2 separate regions of the Homo sapiens genome follow, and region 2 is linked to region 1. Evidence: promoter capture Hi-C in 16 types of primary human blood cells and fetal thymus (Javierre and others, 2016). All regions are on one chromosome and are shown on one strand. The core of a region is centred on a gene start or on the middle of the fragment in contact, and the rest is flanking DNA. Distances in the headings are between cores, read along the strand shown.

Region 1 (3,611 bases), core at 638-3,137:
AGTTTATTCTGCAAAAGTTTCATGCCTGCAGAATCTTTTAAATTAATAAGGAGGGCCAGGCATGGTGGCTCATGCCTGCAATCCCAGCGCTTTGGGAGGCCGGGACAGGCGGATCATGAGGTCATGAGTTCGAGACCAGCCTGACCACCATGGTGACACCCTGTCTCTACTAAAAATACAAAAATTAGCCAGGTGTGGTCCATGTGCCTGTAGTCCCAGGTCTCGGGAGGCTGAGGCAGAAGAATCGTTTGAACCCAGGAGGCGGAAGCTGCAGTGAGCTGAGATTGTGCCACTGCACTCCAGCCTGGGCAACAGAGCAAGACTCTGTCTTAAGAAAATAATAAATAAATAAATAAATAAATAAATAAATAAATTAATTAATATCCTCAATCCCTGAAATAAACATAATTTTCTCCTTGACACACACAGTCTTACTAGATTGGTGCGAGGAGCATAGGGCCTGGTAATTGGACGGTGCAAAAAAATAAAAATAAATATTTTAAAAACTCTCTCAGCTTGGCATGTTGGATTGAAAACTGATGCAGTGTAAAACATATATGGTAAAAAGACATGGCCATATAGACAAAAGGTAGGTTAATGGTTGTCAGGGGCTGGGGAATAGAAAGAACTGTTAAGTAGATAATGGGGTTTCCTGTTTGATGATAGAAATGTTTTAATAATATAATTTTGAATAATGTAATTTTGTATTATGTGAAACATACCTTAAAAAATTAAAATAAAATCAAATATGAATAAAACTGATTAGATTTCAGAATAAAAAGTTATTCATGTATGTATCTATTCAAAACATTTTTTATTCATATCATAGAATAAATAATACTTTCATTTGGTATGTCTGTAAATATCTGACATGTTAATTATGTAAGATTTTAAAAGCAAGTGACCTACTTATAAGGAGATCCCAAAGAGTGGGAGATTTAAAAATGTAATAATAACAAGAAAGTGTTTTAAGTAAAGTAAATTTGTATGTATGTCTAAGCAGAAAATTTTATTATTTGGTTCCAAGAGCCAAATATCTATTTAAAAAATATTTCTTAAGGAATAATCTCTGTGTCCTGCAACGTAAAGTTATCATTATAAAACAGGAGTCAAATTTGTGAATTAATCTTAGAATTGAATAAAATATTTCTTCTCTTTGAAAAATAATCATGCCCCATTTACAGTAAGAATTTTTATATGTTCATGCTTGAGAGGTGGTATATTAAAATTCTAATGCCTTGGCTTTAAGTGTTGAATATGTGTGGAATAAAAAAATAATGATTTTGATATTTCTTATACTGTAGGAGGCAGTTCTCTCATACTGGAAAGAGGTGTCATTGTTAGAAGCTTGTCTTGGTTTAACATAGTTTAAGTTTTGGGGGTGTATTTTGTTTAGTTCAAAATTTTCCATATTAGCAGTAAGTAACAAAAATGTCCAGATCAGAAAACTCTTTGTGAAAATAAAACAGGTGCTCCTACCAGATGTGGTTCATCAATTTTGACAGAATTTTCATTTAAAAAAGGCAAAATTAAAATTTGTTTAATTGTTTGCTTTCTGGGGAATTTTCTTGTTGCTCTGTCTGAAGGAAGTACAGACTTCTTTTGTGATGGGAGGGGATGAATGGCTACTAGACAGCAGCAAAAGATGGGCCATGGGTGCGAAGAGAAGAGGGAGTTAATGGGAGAATCAGAAAAATATCACCTTAAATGTAGGACAATCGAAGTCAAATTGTGGCTGAGCGTTTTGGGGAACTAAGATGTGTGACTCTGTAGGGAGGAAGAATGCCTTGGTGTTTTCAAGGGAAGATGACTCAGCTAGTGCAGTCACCTGACTCCAAACTGCAAGCCTACTTTAGTCATAAAAAGGCAAGAAAATAAGCAATTTTACCTGCAAAGCAAAGGACGTAGTGTTGAAAACGAGACCAGAAATGGTGCTGTTAAAGAGGTGAACAAAAGCATTTACTTTTTGAACGAGTTTCAAAACTGTGAGGGTGGCAAATAGGCAAGGTAAGTAGGAGCAGCCCTCGACCATCTCAGATCAGCTTCTTCAGCCTACCTTGACCTCTGCCTGTCTCAGCTGGGGATCTTAACATAAATCTCTGGATATCAGGGGTGGCTTTTCCCGAGTCTTGAGCCTAGAAACTCCCTCTCTTGATTCTGATTTTCAGAGAAGAGAAGCAGCTGCTTAGCATTTGGGTGGGACAGTGGTTGTTACTAATATATTACAAATTTCAGCATGTTTTTAAACATCAGAAGGAGAAAGTGCTTCGTATTTAAGTGAAATCTCAAAGGGGCAGAAATCTACCATATTTTTTGTTATTCAGATGCAGTGATGCACTGGCTATGTGAGTACAAGAAACAAGTTCACTTAATCACAAACACATGCCTAAATTCCATTGTTCAGTGACTTCACTTTCACTTTCTACCTTGAATTTTAGACTCTGGAAGACCCATTTCTAAACTCTGTGGCCCTTTTCATATGTGCATATTTTCATAAGTGTTTTCCAGAAATAAATTATAGAGGTCCTTCTGTGAGTCCAAAGGAGAAGGAAGTGGTTGGGGCAGCCAGAAAGGTGCAATCTGCATTAATATCATATTCGATGTATGGATTGCTGGGGAGAGAGTGGGATATATTTCTTATAATGTTGGATGTATTTTTCCCCTATCCTGAGGCCCAGAAACTCTGATGTCTCTGCAGTTGTCTTTCCATGCTTTCCTTTATACCCCTCGCCTACTTCTGTAATTTCTCTCTCTACTCTCCCTCCTCCTTCCCACCCTTTTTCTTTCCATTTGTGCTCTCTCCCTCCATTCCTTCTTTTTCCCTTTTCTTTCTTTTTGTGGGTATCTGGTAGCTGCAACTTATTTTCTTTCTGCTTTTCTTACTCACTTACTCTATTTACTAGGTATTTAACAATTGTCTTTAAAAGTAACATCCTTTCTTTCTTAAAATTTTATCCCTAATGGACATTATTTGGGGAAAAACATTTTTATGGTGCCTCTAGATAAGTAATTATATCATCTGCACATGATTCCCGTATTTTCTTACATGCCCGTTCCTCGTAGGTGGAAATGGGTACTTCATTGTACTCTTCTCTCTTTATTTACAAGAGTGTTTTTTCTGTCTCATCCCTTTAAATAACACATTGTCTCTCTTTTTGTGACATTGAATTAATTAGGTCAGATGCGATTTTTCTCATCTATTCATTTGAAGACTGTTTCATATTGCTTCTAGGGCCTATTTGCAAGCAACAAATTATTTTGTTGTTGTTGTTGTTTTGTTTTGTTTTTTAATTTTTGGACCATTTGTCTCATCACTCCAACAAGCAAGAATTAGTTCTCATCATTAAGATCCCTTCAAGATTTCATTCACTTGTTTCAGCAGCCTTGAATTATCATCACCTGGACCTGTTGTTACATCAAGAATCTCTCATTTCTAATGTTCTACTTTGGACACTGTTACCTGTGAGTTTGTTTACATTAAAAAAAAAAAACCTTTTAGTACTTGAGTACCCTAAAGTTTCATATTTTGAATTGGTGTCAGATTTATTATTATTGATCTCTCCATTGCTGGAGAAAACTAAGCAATAGGTAAACTCTATTCTTTTGGTAAT
Region 2 (3,731 bases), core at 200-2,699, 130 kb before region 1:
CCCAGTCCACTGCTGCAGCCCCTGTTCGGGGTCCTGGCCCTAGAACCACCATGAGTTATTCTACCCACACCGCTTTCTCCCTGCTTCCCCGGGACAGGGCATTCAGACCTATGCAGGGCAGTGCATCTGGCTCCAACACACGGCCCCAGTTCACTCCTGCAGTCCCTGCTCAGCACCCTGGCCCTAGAGTCACCCAAAGTTATCCCCCTGCCTTCAAATGAGAAAGGCAGGCATCAGTATGAGAATTATCCTGACAGAAGAGGACACGGTGGTGTAGACTGGCTCCTGATGGCAGAGGTGTGGCCCTGTGGCAGACAGGAAGGAGATCCTCTTCATGCCCATATTCCCTGGAACAAGCTGATTTCCAGATCCCAGCTTTGTTTCTCTTCTCACTAGACAATCTGGAAAGATCACTCATGCATTTCTCCAAACAGCCCACTGCATAGAATAGCACTTCTCAAAGTGTGGGCCACTTAGCTGGTCCAAGGCAATGCAAGGCAAGAAATGGAGGAAGCATTTAGAAACCTGTAAAGCATTGTGATATTACCATGGCCATATAAGCACAGGATCATTTTTTTTTTGGTAAGTCATTTTATTGTATTTTACAAAAGTAATGGTCTGCAGCAGACCAAAATTAGAAAAAAACAAGTCCTTCACCAGGAAGTTTGAGAAGAACAAGTAGCAGCAGCTTGGAGATCACATCCAACCTCCTCTGCTGAACCTGAAGCTCAGAGAGGAGAAACTGACTTGAAGTCATACTATAAACCTGGATCAAAGCTTACTTTCACAGAATCAAAGCTGAAATTTTGAGTGATTTTTAAGCAAGCCATAAAGTGAATAGGTAGCCATAGACAATAAATACTGCATTTGTTGCATTAAACAAAAATATGTCTGAAACCAGAATGAATGGGAGCTCCACACAGGAAGACACAATCCACCACCATGGACTCATGGAGAAAAGTCAGTGATATCAACCAGCCCAGTGAGGACCCCTCCTCCCACTGCAGCCCCGTCCCTTGTGCCCATCTTGAGTTCTCATCCCGTTGCTACCTACTGCCTTGGCAATGGCTTGAGGCCGTCTGGGGCCTTCATGTGCCCACAGACCTCGGGATCATGTCAGCAATGCAAAGCAAGACCCACTCTCTCCAGCCTACATTCTCACTCCTTTCTACCATCTATCATTGACCATAATGCAGAGAACCAAGGGCAGACAGGAAGTGCAAAATCAGCATCTATTCAAAAGCCACGAGCAAGGCCTGAGGGATGCTGTTCACGCAGCATGGGGCACCCACATTGATTAAAAACAGTGTTGCCCGTAACTGACTTGGCCATGAGCTCAGGGCAGAAACCAGTCAGCTTGCTCTCCTGTGAGATCCAGGCCTCCTGCCATAATTGCTGCTTAGTGTAATCCTCACTGGGAGCATGAAAGTCCTGAGGAGGAAACAAGGCAAGGCAGTGGGCACCAGAATCAGCCCAGTAACTGGGCTAGAAAACAGTCATCTCCTCTGGGAAGTCGTCTTCACTACATCCAACCTGGCTGGAGTCCTGGGAGACTGCCTACAAATGGTGCCAACAGCTTCTGCCTGCAAACACAGTCCAGCTTCTCATCTTGACGTGAGGGCCTTTTATGTGACCTTTCCCTTCATACCACCTTAAAGTATGCCCATTTTATAGATTAAATGACTAAGATTCAGATAGAGAAAATAATTGGCCAGGTCACATGGCAGTGAATGAAGGATTCATAAGTTCTTACAGGAGTCCAGCAGCTACAGCCCTGGTCCATTGGCCAAATCCAGTGGCATCAAGACCTCAGTGTGAGGCCCAGCGCTCGTCCTCACTTGCTGTCTGGCCATGGTCAGTGAGCCTCTCTGACTCAACCTGTAAACCTCCCTGGGCCTGGATTTCCTCATCTGTCAGGTGAGGATATGTCTACCTTCTATTAGTTTGGCATTCTATACTTCCATGGTGCTTACCCACAATCATGTTCCTGCTTTCATCTTCTACTTTTAGATTTGCAGAGTCAACTTGCAAGACAATTAGTCACCCCCTTGGAACATGATCCTACAGTCAGGACAATGGGAGGGTGCTGGGGGTCTGTGGTGTGGTCACGAGCAAGCTTTCCCCTCATTACTCTTTATCACATTAAACAGCTGCACCTGCAGCAATATTACCAAGCACTAGTTCTAATAATGATATATTTTAAAGAAAACACCTAAGCACAATGTAGTGTTTCTTAATTGATTTAAGCAGCATTTATGACAGTTACTCTAGCCCTGTTCTTGTCCCTAGATCCTGAGTACAGTGCCCTAGATTTGTACAAGGTTCCACAGAGCTTCGAGCTGGCTTAGCACCCAATACCCTCATCTCCCCAGTGCATGTCCTCTGACTACCACAGAAGACGTTGCTTGAGCAGTGGTTTAACTCACTCATTTCCCAGGAGCATTTATTAGATAATATATCAGATTAGCCAATCACCTCCCACAGATGATTAAAAAAAATCAAAAGAGCTGCCAGAGGGGAGATAACAGCATCTTCTCTCTTAGTCCCTCTTTTTTCTTGCAATTCTGCCCTATCCAAGTCTTCCTTGCCCCACACACAATAAACAAATAGGGGCAAAAAGGCAGACAGATGGACAGAACCTACCATGCACACACACATACACACACATAGAGAGAGGGAGAGAGAGAGAGATGGAAAAATATTCACAACAGAAAAAAGAACATAGAATGCCATTTTTTCCCAAAGAATGGAACTTCATACTCTTAGGAAAATAACAATTCCCCAAATTACTCTTAAGCTCCTAATGCTTCTGGAAATTTACATACGATGGCTCCCTGAGCAAGGTCTGCTGCTCCCAGAGAAACTGGCGTAGCCTGATGCATGTGCCTTGGTACAAGCACTTTCCAGAGCTTGTGTGCAAGGGAACATAAATCCAAACCATAATGTGCTTATAGAACATGTGGAAGAATTTCATAAACAATAAAATCCTATACTTTTCTGTCTTGACTCTCAAACTGGCTTGTTGGCAAGTGGTATCCAAAGCCACAGGAAAAATGTAGCACTTTTTCCTGGAGCTATATTCTCTAATATTCAACAAAGAAAAATATGCATTTATGTTAAAACAAGTGTTTATGAACTACATGCCTGAGTCTTTTTGTCCAACTTTAATTTACAATCAAGATATATGTGTAGGTTTGTTACATGGGTATATTGTATGGTGCTGAGGTTCGGAGCATGAGTGAATCCATCACCCAGGTAGTGAGCCTAGAAACCCGTAGGTAGTTTTTATCAACCCTTACACCCCTCCCTCTCTCCTCGCTCTTGTATTCCCAAAAGTCTATTGCTCCCATTTTTATTACCATGCATACCCAATGTTTAGCTCCCACTTATAAGTGAGAACATGTGATATTTGATTTTCTGTTTCTGCATCTGTTTGTTTAGGATGATGGTTTCCAGCTGCATCCACATGGCAGCAAAGGGCTTAATTTCATTCTTTTTTTATAGGTGTGTAGTACTTCATAGTGTATATGTGCCACGTTTTATTTATTCTACCCATAATTGATGGGCACCTGGGTTCATTCCATGTCTTTGCTTTTGTGAAAAAAAACTACCATTGAATGGTAGTACTGTTTTAAGTTCTCTGAGAAATTTCCACACTGCTCTCCACAGTGGTTGAACTGACTTAAATTCCCATCAACAGTGTATACCCACTCCTTTTTCAACAGCCTCAT

The links. The method cuts DNA at HindIII sites, captures the fragments that hold promoters and counts their contacts. A CHiCAGO score of 5 or more calls a contact.
Region 2: a fragment that was not itself captured here is called in contact with the fragment with the promoter of XKR3 in region 1 in 1 of 17 cell types (naive B cells); the score reaches 5.2 in naive B cells.

What each region holds. Positions count from the first base shown.
Region 1 is chr22:16,823,687-16,827,297 of GRCh38, reverse strand. It overlaps XKR3 (XK related 3), which reads left to right and starts at 1,887. Exons shown (of 4, transcript NM_001386955.1): 1 at 1,887-2,007. The HindIII fragment of the contact is 7,309 bases long and covers 1,350-3,611 here.
Region 2 is chr22:16,951,595-16,955,325 of GRCh38, reverse strand. No RefSeq gene overlaps it. Among named protein-coding and RNA genes, the nearest start is that of GAB4, 55 kb to the left of the region's middle. The HindIII fragment of the contact is 1,339 bases long and covers 780-2,118 here.